Linked DNA regions of Homo sapiens: all the other regions are linked to region 1. The links are contacts of gene promoters, found by promoter capture Hi-C in blood cells and fetal thymus (Javierre and others, 2016). All regions are on one chromosome and are shown on one strand. The core of a region is centred on a gene start or on the middle of the fragment in contact, and the rest is flanking DNA. Distances in the headings are between cores, read along the strand shown. Region 1 holds the start of AMACR (alpha-methylacyl-CoA racemase). Region 2 overlaps DNAJC21 (DnaJ heat shock protein family (Hsp40) member C21). Region 3 overlaps BRIX1 (biogenesis of ribosomes BRX1). Region 4 overlaps RAD1 (RAD1 checkpoint DNA exonuclease). Region 5 overlaps TARS1 (threonyl-tRNA synthetase 1).

The links. Contacts are between HindIII fragments. The CHiCAGO score rates a contact against its expected background, and 5 or more counts as called.
Region 2: a fragment that was not itself captured here is called in contact with the fragment with the promoter of AMACR in region 1 in 2 of 17 cell types (total CD8 T cells and total B cells); the score reaches 5.5 in total CD8 T cells.
Region 3: a fragment that was not itself captured here is called in contact with the fragment with the promoter of AMACR in region 1 in 6 of 17 cell types (total CD4 T cells, naive CD8 T cells, activated CD4 T cells and 3 more); the score reaches 8.4 in total CD4 T cells.
Region 4: a fragment that was not itself captured here is called in contact with the fragment with the promoter of AMACR in region 1 in 2 of 17 cell types (activated CD4 T cells and naive CD8 T cells); the score reaches 6.8 in activated CD4 T cells.
Region 5: a contact is called between a fragment that was not itself captured here and the fragment with the promoter of AMACR in region 1, in 1 of 17 cell types (erythroblasts). The highest score is 5.7, in erythroblasts.

Annotation. Positions count from the first base shown.
Region 1 is chr5:34,006,707-34,009,509 of GRCh38, reverse strand. AMACR (alpha-methylacyl-CoA racemase) reads left to right here and starts at 1,460. Exons shown (of 5, transcript NM_014324.6): 1 at 1,460-1,737. The coding sequence starts at 1,491. All of the region lies in intron 6 of C1QTNF3-AMACR (C1QTNF3-AMACR readthrough (NMD candidate)), which reads left to right. RefSeq lists a silencer at 1,244-1,323. The HindIII fragment of the contact is 12,530 bases long and covers 1-2,803 here.
Region 2 is chr5:34,941,293-34,944,095 of GRCh38, reverse strand. All of the region lies in intron 7 of DNAJC21 (DnaJ heat shock protein family (Hsp40) member C21), which reads right to left. Among named protein-coding and RNA genes, the nearest start is that of DNAJC21, 13 kb to the right of the region's middle. The HindIII fragment of the contact is 3,892 bases long and covers 1-2,803 here.
Region 3 is chr5:34,924,696-34,927,498 of GRCh38, reverse strand. BRIX1 (biogenesis of ribosomes BRX1) reads right to left here. Exons shown (of 10, transcript NM_018321.4): 9 at 2,524-2,652; 10 at 1,503-2,273. The coding sequence ends at 2,004. LOC124900961 (a long non-coding RNA gene) reads left to right here. Exons shown (of 2, transcript XR_007058731.1): 2 at 1-1,987. It also overlaps a transcript of TTC23L not described here. Among named protein-coding and RNA genes, the nearest start is that of DNAJC21, 3.5 kb to the left of the region's middle. The HindIII fragment of the contact is 4,450 bases long and covers 1-2,803 here.
Region 4 is chr5:34,906,156-34,908,958 of GRCh38, reverse strand. RAD1 (RAD1 checkpoint DNA exonuclease) reads left to right here. Exons shown (of 6, transcript NM_002853.4): 6 at 11-2,803. The coding sequence ends at 194. It also overlaps a transcript of TTC23L not described here. Among named protein-coding and RNA genes, the nearest start is that of RAD1, 7.9 kb to the left of the region's middle. The HindIII fragment of the contact is 479 bases long and covers 1,011-1,489 here.
Region 5 is chr5:33,462,087-33,464,889 of GRCh38, reverse strand. TARS1 (threonyl-tRNA synthetase 1) reads right to left here. Exons shown (of 19, transcript NM_152295.5): 16 at 2,687-2,791; 17 at 1,065-1,137. Among named protein-coding and RNA genes, the nearest start is that of TARS1, 23 kb to the right of the region's middle. The HindIII fragment of the contact is 3,857 bases long and covers 1-2,803 here.

The DNA of each region.
Region 1 (2,803 bases), core at 211-2,710:
ATAAAATCTGTGCCTAGGTCAATGTCCTGAAGTGTTTTATCTGTTTTCTTATAGTAGTTTTATAGTTTTGGGTTGTATGTCTTAAGTTTTTTAATCCATTCTGAGTTGATTTTTGTGTATGGTGAGGGATAGGGGTCTAGTTTCATTCTTCTGCATATGGATTTCCAGTTTTTCCAGCACTACTTATTGAATAGAATGTCCTTAATATATGTTCTTGGTGTTTTTATTGATAATCAGCTGGCTGTAAATATATGGATTTATTTTGGGGTTCTTTATTCTGTTCCATTGGTCTTTGTGTCTATTTTATGCCAATAGAATGCTGTTTTGGTTACTACACCTTGGTAGTATAATTTGAATTCTGGTAGTGTGTTGCTTCCTGCTTTGTTCTTTTTGTTCAGTGTTGCTTTGGCTATTCAGGACCTTTTGTGGTTTTATACAATTTTTTTTTCTATTTCTATGAAGAGAAAGCCACAGAGTCCTAAAATAATTCTAAAACTCATCATGACTTTCTTGCCTAAAAGATCTTGATTTCAATCGTGCCTAGTTTTGCTTTAATCACTTGCTTGAGAAATACATAAATCCCCACTTAAGATTAGTGCAGGCATATCTCTGGCACCCATTTCTGGTTCTATTAAAATTCCTAGAGATGTCAAAAATTACATTAGGCCACCTGACAGGCTATACCTAGAAGAGAAAAAATGATTTGTAAAAGCAGTGGGGCTATTTGCGATTGCTTTTTTTTTTTCTTAAATATCACCTATTAGGTTGAAAACCTGAAATTGCAGCTTTCTGTAGAAATGGCGGAAGACAAACTAACATTTTTAAAGCGCTCTCATTTAGCTCTGATGAGTACTACACCCCTGATATTCTTCTGATACTAAAATAATTTTCCTAGTGTAGTCTAAACTTTTTTAAAAAGACATGTAATCCGCGGAGTTTGTAACTCAAAACGAGTGCATCTAGGAGGTATCGCAAGCCGTTTCTGGATTAAATTCCCAGCTAGCTAGCTAGCTAAGCAGGGGCGGTGAAGAAGACAATCTGCAGCCTAGGGAAGAAAACGCTTTCGCATTGTTCTTACGTGTTTACGTTATTTTATTTCCCTAGAGCAAGGCAGGAGTAGGGACTCGAATGGTACAGTTGGGCTGGGGATCGCCCTGGTACAATAAAAGCGTCCAGAGAGGACGGTAACAGGCAGGAGCTCCAAAGGTCAGTCCCTGCAATTTAAGACTCAGGAATTTAGGTTGCACAAAAAGGAAAGCAACCTACTGCATTTGGCACTGGCGGTCCCGGGAGGCCGGGGGTGGGGAAGCGCCCAGTGCGCAGACTCCGCGGGCTTGCGCAGGCCCGCAAAAGAGGGACGGGGGTGGTGCCTTTGGGGCGCGGCGCCGCGGCTGGGGGCGTGGCGCCGGGGATTGGGAGGGCTTCTTGCAGGCTGCTGGGCTGGGGCTAAGGGCTGCTCAGTTTCCTTCAGCGGGGCACTGGGAAGCGCCATGGCACTGCAGGGCATCTCGGTCGTGGAGCTGTCCGGCCTGGCCCCGGGCCCGTTCTGTGCTATGGTCCTGGCTGACTTCGGGGCGCGTGTGGTACGCGTGGACCGGCCCGGCTCCCGCTACGACGTGAGCCGCTTGGGCCGGGGCAAGCGCTCGCTAGTGCTGGACCTGAAGCAGCCGCGGGGAGCCGCCGTGCTGCGGCGTCTGTGCAAGCGGTCGGATGTGCTGCTGGAGCCCTTCCGCCGCGGTGAGCCCGGGCCCCGCGGGCTGCTCTCGGGAAGTTCCCGCGGAGGGGAGGGGCCTGGCCGTTCGATCGAGGCTGCACCCGCCACACCTTTGCCCTGTTGCCGCAAGAACCCTTGTCGGCCCCAGCCTTCCAGATTTTTGCCTCCTAGGGTATTGTTAGTGATCATTCTTCCCAAACTGGATTGTCCAAAACTTGGGTTCTGAGATACTGCTGTTGCCCGGTTTCTCCTTTTGCCTCTCTGACTCCTTCCCAAATTCCTCCTTTTTTTTCTAAGAAACGTTCCGTATTTGCCTTTCTTAATTAATTGAGGGTCTTGAACCCTGTGAGAATCTAATGAAAGCCATAGGATTCCCTTCCTGGAAAACTGCATATAGGCGGTCATTCGGCTACCGTTTTGGAGTGCTGTACCCTCAAGCCATCCACGGGCCCAGGCTAACGCTCCTCCCTGCCTGAAATGCTGGCGTTCTAAGTCTCAGCATCTGCTCCCTGAAGCCCAGTTACCCATTCCCATCATTTTCACCTTTTTGTAGACTTCCCCCTTTCAGAGCGGCAGACGCTGGCATACACAGGTCCTGGGCATCGCCGTCAAGGCTGCCCGCCAGGCAGCTTCCACAAATCCCAAAATGAGCCTTTCCTTCTTCCTTCTAAAACAGCATCTCCACCTTCTGTATTATTTATTTCAGTGAATGCCTGAATCTCAAACTTGTACTTCATCATGGACTCCAGTCTTCCTTTCACATCCAATTTCAATGATCATCAATACAGTCATTTTGCTCCTTAGCCCACTCGGACTATTTCTCTCCATACCTGCTGCAACTGCCTTGACACTGGTGTGACAGCCTTTTAAAAACTGGTGTTTGGGGCTGGTATCACTCCAGTGGATTCTCAGACAGCTGCCAGAATAACTTTGTTCAAGTAGAAATCCAAAGCATTGCCTGGTCTATAGTGGGAAATCGGTAAATGGTGAATGAATGAATGCCTACGGCACAGCCGGCTTATTTAAATGCGTTAACTCATTTAACCCTCACAGCTGTATTTGAGGCTTGTAACAATAATGATTTAATAA
Region 2 (2,803 bases), core at 304-2,803, 930 kb before region 1:
CAGGAAACTTTGTCAACTATCTACTTCATCTCATCTGTTCAGGCTTTTGGTATTATAGTTTTAGTTGCTGTTTTTCTTTCCTACTAAAATTCTCCTTGAGACCAAGCTGCCCTGGAGATAATGGAAGATCCTGTGTCTGAAAGTAAGTCCTCCAAAAAAGTTATAAGCACATGTCAAAAGGACACAAGGGTGGTTTGAAGGAATGCTCACTAACCAATTCTGGAAAAATTTGAGCATGAAAAGGTCAGTAATGAATTATAAAACACTGAAAAAAAGAAATAAATTCAAACTGATAATAGATAAATGGATAAAAGGGAAGGCTCCTGTTTACAGCAGAAGGCCAAGTGCTAACTGATAAAAACTTGAGGGGGTACTGGCACTGGAAAAGCATCATTCTGCAACCATCATAAAAAAGACTGACGCAAGCTAAAACCATCAACAGATGCTAAAGCTATGAGGAAAACTTTTATGAGAAGCAAGATATCTGCATAGTTTTAAAGTGTCTCCTCACAGATTAAACATGTTACAAGGGAAAACCTGTTGCAAGGGAAAAAATACTAACTCTATAGTAAAATTAGTAGTATAGTAGTAAAATTAGATGACACCTTGATTGGGTGATGAAAATTATCACGACAAATGAGGGGTAGAAGGACTTTACGTGTCTCCAGCTATGAATCCCTGAGAGCACAACATGCTTGTGCGGCGTCCCTCCTGGGGCTGCATAACCTGAATCTAATCATGAGGAAATGCACAAAGACAAAATGAGAAGAATTCTATGAAAAAAGTGAAAACAGTGTACTTCTAAAATGTAAACAGCATAAAAGACAACACAAGCTGTTCCAGATTATGTTCTTAGACTGCATTCTGTATTGGAGAAAAATTCTATATTAATAAATAATTGATTGGCAAAATTGGAATGCAGGTAGTAAATTAGATAAAAATACCATATCAATGTTAATAATTTCTTTTATTTGGTCACTGTAGCATGGTTACATAAGAGAATAACCTTACTTTTTTTTTTTATTTTGAGACGGAGTTTTGCTCTTATTGCCCAGGCTGGAGTGCAATGGCACGATCTTGGCTCACCACAACCTCCGCCTCCTGAGTTCAAGCGATTCTCCTGCCTCAGCCTCCTGAGTAGCTGGGATTACAGGTATGCGTCACCACGCCCAGCTAATTTTGTAGTTTTAGTAGAGACGGGGTTTCTCCATGTTGGTCAGGCTGGTCTCAAACTCCCAACCTCAGGTGATCTGTCCACCTCAACCTCCCAAAGTGCTGGGATTACAGGCGTGAGCCACTGCGCCCAGCGAGAATAACCTTATTCTTAAGATATAGTGAAGTATTTAGAGGTAAAGGAACACTATATATGTAAGTTACTTTCAAATTATTCAGAAAAATACTGTGTGTGTGTTGAGCGTGTAGAGAGAAAGAGGACATGCAAATTGTGCAAAACGTTAGTAACAGGTCAATCAGACACACTATATTCTCTTCTTGCAATTTACCTTTAAGTGTGTCATTTCCAAATAAAAAAAAATTTTTAATCTCCTTCATTGTTGACCTTTTTCTTGCTTGTTTCTAATTTTTCTGCCTCTTTCCACTTCCCCTAGTACTCTGTCATTTCTCCCTGAGGTCATATGGTAATACCATTTATGACTCTCACAGCGCCATTCTCATCCTTTGGCCTCCTTTCTCTCTGATTGCCCATTTTGCTTTTTTTCCCTTGCTGATTCTACTCCCATTTTCTCCCGTGTTGTTTCCTCCCTCCTTTATAATAATGGTATCCGTTTTAATACTTCTTTCTTCATCATTGTTCCCCTAAGATAAAGTTCTTCCACTTCAGCAAAGATACTCTGGGCCAGACAAGTTTAAAGCCCCTATATTGGCAGCATCAGCCTGCATGGGACAATGATGGTGGGAAGTGAGTCTGACACCAATGATGGAGGGAGATGATTAGACACGGTCTAGACTTTTTGCCCATGTGACTATGTCTTCTTTGCCAAAACAAGCAATGCTTCTGGAGACAGTGCATGTGTTTTAAAAGCAGCTATAGGAATACTGGGATGAGTGACAATCAGTACAACAGGTTTAATGGCAGGTACAAATACCTCTTTCTACCCTGCTGGAAAGGAATCCCCCGAGACAGTATGTGGGGCTAGTTATCAACTGCTACAAGCACATTGTTTTTAGAACTTTCAAAATGTTACACTTCACCTCAAAAAAAAACACAAGGGCCAGGCGCTGTGGCTCACGCCTGTAATCCCAACACTTTGGGAGGCCGAGGTGGGTGGATCGCCTGAGGCCAGGAGTTTGAGACCAGCCTGACCAACATGGTGAGACCCTGTCTCTACTAAAAATACAAAAATTAGCTGGGTGCGGTGACCTGCATCTGTAGTCCCAGCTACTCGGGAGCTTGAGGCAGGAGAATCGCTTGAATCCAGGAGGTGGAGGTTGCAGTGAGCTGAGATCGTGCCACTGCACTCCAGCCGGGGCAACAGAGTGAGACTCTGTCTCCAAAAAAAAAAAAAAAAAAAAAAAGAAAACACAAGTTCAGAGATACTAAACTTACTCCTTTTAACTGGATGCAGTGGCTCACGCTTGCAATCCTAGCACTTTGAAAGGCTGAGGCAGGTGGAACACTTGAATCCAGGAGTTCAAGACCAACCTGGACAACATGGCAAAACCCCATCTCCAAAGAAAATATTTAGGTTGGTGCAAAAGTAACTGCAGTTTTTTAGCTGGCCATGATGGCAGGTTCCTGTAGCCCTAGCTACTTGGGAGGCTGACATGGGAGGATCATCTGAGT
Region 3 (2,803 bases), core at 1-2,500, 920 kb before region 1:
TGTTCCTGAGATGTGGGTGTTTAAAAACAAATTCTGAATACGGCTGTCTTATTTTTATCCAAGACTATATTCAACTGCCTAAATAAAATAACGGCCACTTTGGTTTTTTTCCATTTAACTAGATTTGGCCCTAGTCACATACAAGTATTTCAAGTGATCCTCTCACCTGAATTACCTGCATAATTTAGATGACTTCAAGATTTCAAGTTTCCTAATTTAGACTATTTCAAGGCCAATTAAGCACTCAGGAAGGCCGTTCTTAGCAAAAAATTTAAGGAAAAAAAAACCATCAATATTGATCATTCTGCCTAAATACTTAAAATAATAAAGACATAAAATTAAAATGTAAGTGAACTAGGAAAGATCTCTATAATAAACTTACTATATAAAAGCACTTATAGAATCAGTAAAAGACAATCCTACCACAGAAAAACAAACATGATTAGTCCAGTCAAAAAGGATAAACCAGTAACTAAAAAAAAAAAAAGGTGGTTTTTTTTTTTTAACCTATTGAATTGACAGATTCTTTCATGCATAGTGAAACTGGTAAGGGGACAAGGAAATGAACCCTCTAATAGCCTCTAGTGAGGTTATGGTGGTGGAGGGAACAAGCAAAAAGCCTAGAGTTCATAATCTTTAACCTAAGTTGCACTTCTAGGAAACCAAGTGTTGTGTAAAAAGACATGTAACACATCTATATAAGTATTCACTACAAGCATCGATACCAGCAAAAAAAAGAGGAAAAACTGAAAATACTGATTACATAGCTATGGTACACAGAATACTACAGTTAACAGTTAGCAAGTAAACATGTGGAACAAACACATAGAAAAACAATCAGTGTGAAGTCAAAAAAGCAGGTGATGAAACAGCATGTGTCATTTCATTAGATATATATTTTATTGTATTTCTATCTGTCCATGTCAGCAGCCACCTACCTCCATGGTCACTGGTACTCAGAATCTTTTCTTTCCGTTACTAATTTACCCATAAGATCTTAAGCCTAGTGCCCCCTTACACAATAGGCAGTTTCTCTTTCATGTGGGGAAAAATTCAAATGTTCTGGTATCCCCTTTAACAACTGTCCTATTTTTCTCTCCTTTTACTATTAGTTTTCTAAATAAGTAATCTATACACACTGCTTCTAAAATAAGTATGTCATTTGGCCGGGCATGGTGGCTCATGCCTGTAATCCAAGCACTTTGGGAGGCCGAGGTGGGCAGATCACCTGAGGTCAGGAGTTCGAGACCAGCCTGACCAACATGGAGAAACCCCAACTCTACTAAAAATACAAATTAGTTGGGCGTGGTGGCACATGCGTGTAATCCCAGCTACTCGGGAGGCTGAGGCAGGAGAATCACTTGAACCAGGGAGGTGGAGGTTGCGGTGAACCGAGATCGCGCCATTGCACTCCAGCCTGGGCAACAAGAGCGAAACTCCGTCTCACAAATAAAATATAATAAAATAAAAAATTTACAAAGTGCTTTCAACACAGCCATTAATGCATTTGATTCTCAAAACCTCAACATTTTAATATACTCTTTTTTGAAGTGACAGATCAGGGGTTGGTTCTTCCATGGCTTCATTAACTGATGACTGAGTAAACTTCAGTGAGATGCCTTCCTTTCTACCAGTCTACTCCTACTTTACCATCCACAACCGATGCTCTTGAAGTGTTGAATGCTTTTACAAATAATATGACCTAATAAATGTCTGAATTTCAGCTTTGCTAAACCAAAAATTCCAACCCAAGAGAACAGGCTACATTAAGTGTGCTACATTTTTAGCAACACAAACTTCAAAAAGAAATCAGAAATTAACTGATGAATTCTGGTGATATTTTATTTAGAAAAAGATAATCACTGATTTTAAGATCTTAATTTTTCTTTCTTGTAAATGCTACACTAATTAGACGTAAGATAGTATTAGATAATAAAAGTATTTACACATTGAATACAAAATAAATATAAAGTAACTGAAAAACAAATCAGGTTTCCATTGACTTATTTTGTTTTCCCACTGTCCATCCTCTGTTTCATTTTTCTTTGCCTTTTGTAAATCCGTTTCTTTCTTGCTTTCAAATCAACTTTTGGCTCTGGTTTTACCCACTGTATTTCTATTGGTTTCTCCTCAGCTGGTGTTACAAAAACATCTGCAGTGGGATCATGTGGAAGAAGAGTCTTCGGCTCTTTCTTTCTCAGTTTTTGCACATCTTTCACTTGCTGTTTCTCTCTGTATTTTGCAGCTGTGATGGATCTTATGACACGCCGATGCTAAAAAAAAAAAAAAAAGATTAGATGCTTTTGAAATAAAAATAAACATTTTATATAAGGCAAAGACTTTCAGTTATGAACCATATATCCTTTCAGCCAGTGTCATGAAAAAAGGGAGTAATTTCCAAGTTTCTATGCAGCAAAAACCAAATTCAGTTTCACAGGTAATAAAACAGCAATTACTTCACAGAATCATTTTGGCCAAAGGGTTCTGGTACATTGAAGACTACTGAATGACACAACCGCTTACCATGTTTGGTGACTGGTAGTGAGGATTTTCATATAAAGTTGGTCCTCCAAAACTTCCCTGGAAAATCTTTATGAGATTTAAGACAAAACGAGGTCCTATTTCTACAAGAGCAGCATCTTCTTCTATGATCTTTAATAAAAAGGAAACATTTCATTTTGGTTTGGTTACGTTATTCCCAAAAGGTATACTGGCTATAACCTCATTATAAATGTGCCTGAAATAATTGATAATCCATAAAATCAAGGTGGGGGTGAAACTTGGTAAATGGCAAATCATCAAT
Region 4 (2,803 bases), core at 1-2,500, 900 kb before region 1:
TCTTCTACAGATACAAGATTTCCTTACTGAAACCCTCTACAAAGGCATTAGTCCTATCTTGTAAGGTATCTATTCGGACAGATAACAGAGGCTTCCTTTCATTACAGTATATGATTAGAAATGAAGATGGACAAATATGTTTTGTGGAATATTACTGCTGCCCTGATGAAGAAGTTCCTGAATCTGAGTCTTGAGTATGACAATTCACTGATATTTATGTGTACATTTATGATAGATGAAGTTCTTATTCTGAGTACAGTACTCTTTGTCATTTCATATTGGATTTTCTATAGAGAAGAAGCACAATGGGGAAGATAGGAGCAAGGTCATGTACCCTAATAGTTACTATGTTTTGTAAATCCATTTTGTAGAGGGCATGTAAATAAATGTTTTCCTGTAGTCATAGATTATTCAGGACTGTCCTTTAGTTCTGTCTTTTGAACTCATGGGAATAATTGTGAGTCAGCGTAACATTTCAAGAGTCTAAAGGTGGCCGGGTGTGGTGGCTTTAATCCCAGCACTTTGGGAAGCCGAGGTGGGCGGATCACCTGAGGTCAGGAGTTCGAGACCAGCCTGACCAACGTGGAGAAACCCCATCTCTACTAAAAATACAAAAAATTAGCCGGACGTGGTGGCACATGCCTGTAATGCCAGCTACTCGGGAGGCTGAGGCAGGAGAATTGCTTGAACCCGGGAGGCGGAGGTTGTGGTGAGCTGAGATGACGCCATTGCACTCCAGCCTAGGCAATAAGAGCAAAACTCTGCCTCAAAAAAAAAAAAAAAAAAAGTCTAAAGGCTTAAAGTTTGATGCAGCTACCTGAAATGATCTTTTATTTATTTATTATTAGAAAAAGCAAAGGCATATGGGCATTGCTTATTAGTTTGAATTCTAGAGACTAGATCTTAAAGTAGTGGTTCTCAAAGTGTTGTGCCCGCACCAACATCAGAATGGCCTGCAAACTTGTAGCAAACTCTGGGGAGGAGGCCAGCATTCTGTATTTTAACAAGCTTCCCTCAGGAGATTCTGATGCCTGCTAAATTTTGGGAACCACTGTTTTAAAGGAAACTTTTTTTTTCTTTAATAGCATTTAATTGTATGAGATGATTGCTTTTACATGTGATTTCCTTGCAAATGTTCTGAAGTTGAGGCATCACCAAACAAGTCTGAACAATTCTTTATGTGATTTATTTTTAAAGTAGACCTTTTGAAGAGATCTATGAATGGGATATAAAGCAATTTTCAGTGTTACAGGTTTTCTTCTTCTTCTCAAAACTGTTTGCTGTAAGTAACTGCAATCAGTACTTACTACTTTCCATTTGCTTATGAGTTTCTTGACAAATCAAGGTGTAGAAAACCAGTTATTAAGTGATTTTGTACTTTCCTGGTAGTTGTCACTAAAATAATTTTTGTGGCATATAAATATATTTAATAAAATGCAAAAATTATCTTCCTGTCTAGTAGAAAAAATTACATGAGTAAAGTGAAGCTTCTGTCTTTGTTACTGTACCAGGTGACAACAGCTGAGTGTCCCTCCATGGACAGTCACTATTGGCCTTTTGAGTGAGACAGTTCTTTAGGATAAAAACCTGTCATCCCATTGCAGGATTCATTTAGCCTTTCTGGCCCTTACCCACTGATGCTAGTCATTGTGACCACCCCACCTCCCCCAAATAAAAGTGTGCCAAACTATTCATTGTTGAGAACCATTCAATTGTATTCACCAAAATTGGAGGATATATTGGAATGCCCTACCTTAATATAGGTCACATAGCATTAGAGAAAATTGGTTTGGAGAGTATTACAGCAAAGTGTGCTGCAAGGAGGCTACTCCAGCACAATGGCAGGCACTGCTTCCCAGGCATATGGACAATTCTGGGAGGTGGCCAGGGTCAGCACCTGATAACTAGTAAGTGTCTCAATCTCAGCATACAAAATTTAGCAGTGACTACAAAAGAAGTTGGAATTTTCTAAAATGTTTGTATTCAAGAAGGAAACAAATGAATTTACTAAATGTTGTCAGAGTATTTTTTGTTTAGATAACCACCAAGAACAGAACAAACCTAAAAGATACTTGGGAAAATATCTAATCAGTCAACATTCTAAGGACTGTTAAATGTGAAATAGCATAGTTATTTTTTGTCTTTTGTTACTAGTGTGAACAAAGAACGGCGCCTAACATATAATGGGCATTTAGTAACTCTGTTAGATGAAAGACTCTCCAATTTCAGATTTTCTTTTAGCATCTTATTAGTCACTACTTAATTCTGATGATTTAGCTCTAAATTTATTTTGATCTCAGTTTTTTTATTTTTATTTTTGGAGACAAGATCTTGCTCTGTTGCCCAGGCTGGAGTACAGTTGTAGGATTACAGTTCACTCCAGCCTCAATCTCCTAGGCTCAAGCAATCCTCCCATCTCAGCTTCCCAAATAGCTACGACTACAGGTGCATGCCTCCATGCCCTGCTAATTTTTGTATTTTTTGTAGAGATGGGGTTTTACTATGTTCCCTAGGCTAATCTTGAACTCCTGAGCTCAAGCAATCCACCCGCCTCGGCCTCCCAAAGGGCTGGGATTACAGGCGTGAGCTATCATGCCTGGCCTAATGTATTTTTTAAAAGTTGAATCTAAAAAGAATTTAAAACAAATATAAATCAGCTCAGTAAGGATGGATATTTTTGTACATTTAAAACTATTATTTTAGGCCGGGAGTGGTGGCTCACACCTGTAATCCCAGCATTTTGGGAAGCCGAGGCAGGGGGATCATCTGAGGTCAGGAAGTTCGAGATCAGCCTGGCCAACAT
Region 5 (2,803 bases), core at 209-2,708, 540 kb after region 1:
GTTTCACCATGGTCTTGATCTCCTGACCTCGTGATCCACCCGCCTCGGCCTCCCAAAGTGCTGGGATTACAGGCGTGAGCCACCACGCCTGGCCCACTTCAGTTTTTTTTTAAGAGATGGGGTCTCACTATGTTGCTCAGGCTGGAATGCAGTGGCTACTCACAAGCACAATCATCACACCCTGAACCCTCAAAGATCCTCCTGCCTCAAGCTCCTAAGTAGCTGGGACTACAGGTATGCATCTCCATGCTCAAGTTCATTTATTTCTTAAGGGTAATTAAGAACTGAGTGTGGTTTATTCTGATGGTCTGAAGACATGATGGTTTTGATGTTACAGTATTGTTCACTCATCAACTTTTAATAATTTGAAATTCCTTAGTATGGAATTTTCACTATGGCAGAACAATGCTTTAAAGTGAAGTTATGAATGGCTATACATTTGTTGGTAAGTTAGTTTTTTTGGTAGAGAGGCAAGACATTGGTCTGCTATACTATTAACCTGAAAAAATTTCAACTACCTGAAGAAATTTACATTAAAATGAAGCAAAATTACTCACTGAGTCAAAGAGCAGCCTAAACTGTATTTTGAACGGGAATTTACCTACCATACTGAAGTACCTGATATCTGCTAATCTGGTTTTTTAAAATACTAAATACTAAAATATACAAGTGTAACTGGGTATGGTGGCTCCTGCCTGTAGTCACTGCTACTCGGGAGGCCAAGGTGGGAGGACTGCGTGAGCCCAGGAGTTTGAGGTTACAGTGAGCCATGACTGTACTACTGCACTCCAGTTGGGGCAAGAGAAAGATCCCATCTCTTAAAACAAATACAATAAAATATACAAGTGTACATAAAACACTATCCAAATATGTCTTCTGATTATGGAATCATGGAGAAAAGCATTAAAGAAGTAATATAATCTATTCAGGCTTAACAAAGATTAAAAATAGTAACATTTCTCTTTATCACAACAGCTCGATTCACCAAGAATACAGGGCTTATGTGATTTGAAAAGCTGAACAACAGATGTTAAATTGAAAGAAAATTCATATCTAAGGCTTACCTTTTGGGCATATTCATCACAGGTTGGTCCCACTGGAACTACCATTACCTGGCGAGGGGACAGCCAAAAGGGCCTTTGGAAGAGAATAAAAATATTCAGTGTAGATGTGGGCATATTCACTAAACAGGGACAGCATATTTCTTACTCTACTCTTCAGTATCTTTTCCTGGAACATGTAACGACTACTTTTAAAACTTGGCTTTAAAAAACCCCAAAATGAAAAGACCTATCCAATAAAGATTAAGGCGAGGAGATGCAGGAGAAGAAAACTAACCCTACGTAAGGAAAGCCTGTAACTACAATTTGTCTTGCTAAGTAGATAGCAAAGCAAATTGAGGATAGGACTAGGCCTCACACTTTAATACATCACAAAACACTGTGTATTGGCTGTGAGAGGAGGTAACAAATGATTTAATAACTGCATGTAGTGATTAATTGTTCATTTTATTACTTATTCTTCACGGGGACACAGTGCCCTCAGTTTACTCAACATCCATTTTGTATCATTCAGCAAATTGTAATTGATAATAACTGGTTATGGCACTTGGTAAAAATCAGAGTTTTCACTACTTATTAAAAAATAAGCCCATCCAATTCTCCCTTTGAAGCAATACAAGTGTCAAATGCTTCTGATGCTGCAAACATCAGGCTAATGTTTTTCTCCATCATTCCTCTATTTTCAGTTGTTCTGTTGTATCAGGCAAAAGGCTAAAGTAGGCACTAAATTCTACCCTAATCATGGACTTTTCCCCACCTAAAACAGGTTTAGCAGAGCAATTAGCTGAGGACTCCCTTAATTCTTGAAATACCTTGCAGAGAATGTGTCTCACATTTTATCTGACTTTGAGAAATCTAGAGATTATCTTGTATCATTGATCAGAATGAGAAACTGTCCTAATTTCTGAAGTAACCAAGTTCAAATAAAACTGAAATGACAGTAATGTGTAAGATTAAACCAATGTACGTCATTTTACAAAAGTTTTAAATCAATATGATTAATATGGAAGGCTCTACACACGGGTGCTTTTATAACCCTGTGCTGCTTTCAAATGCACTGTGGGTCCAGAAAAAACTGCTTAAGAATTAAGATGAAAGTTATGTGGCCATGTATCTTGGAAACAAAAACTTACTTAACCTCACAGAAATGAATCACAAATGTTGATCGGTTTGGCATCTGTTTTAAAAAATGCTTGGCTTTTAAAACATGTCCAAATACCTGCTTGTTATGATTAGCAAGGCTGAACGAAGAAAGCCATAAGCCTCCTCATTTATCTATGTAAAACCAGCAAAGCCATCTAAATCCCAAAACAAAGTTACTAGAAAAGCATCCAAAACAGTAAGTATACTTCTTACAGAATACTAATTCCTAATTAGAAAGTATTACACAACATCCAAACAAATCAAGTTCTGGAATTAAAGTAATTACTATTAGCAATTGTTCTTAATGCTAAAAAGTTTGTGTTTAGATTGTGATTCCTTATTTTTTAATGAACACTTGTCGTTAGTTAGAAGCAACCGATTGGAATCATTCTCCCTTTCCATCTGATAATTAAATCGAAAAGTAGACATTTCTTGTAGCCAATTTATACTAATCAGAAAAAAAAGACAGTGACAAAAATTACCATTTGCCCCCATAGTTTTCTGTGAGGATAGCAATCATTCTTTCCACTGATCCCAAGATGGCTCGATGAACAATCACTGGCCTTTTCTTATCATCACCATCATGGCTATAAAGAAAA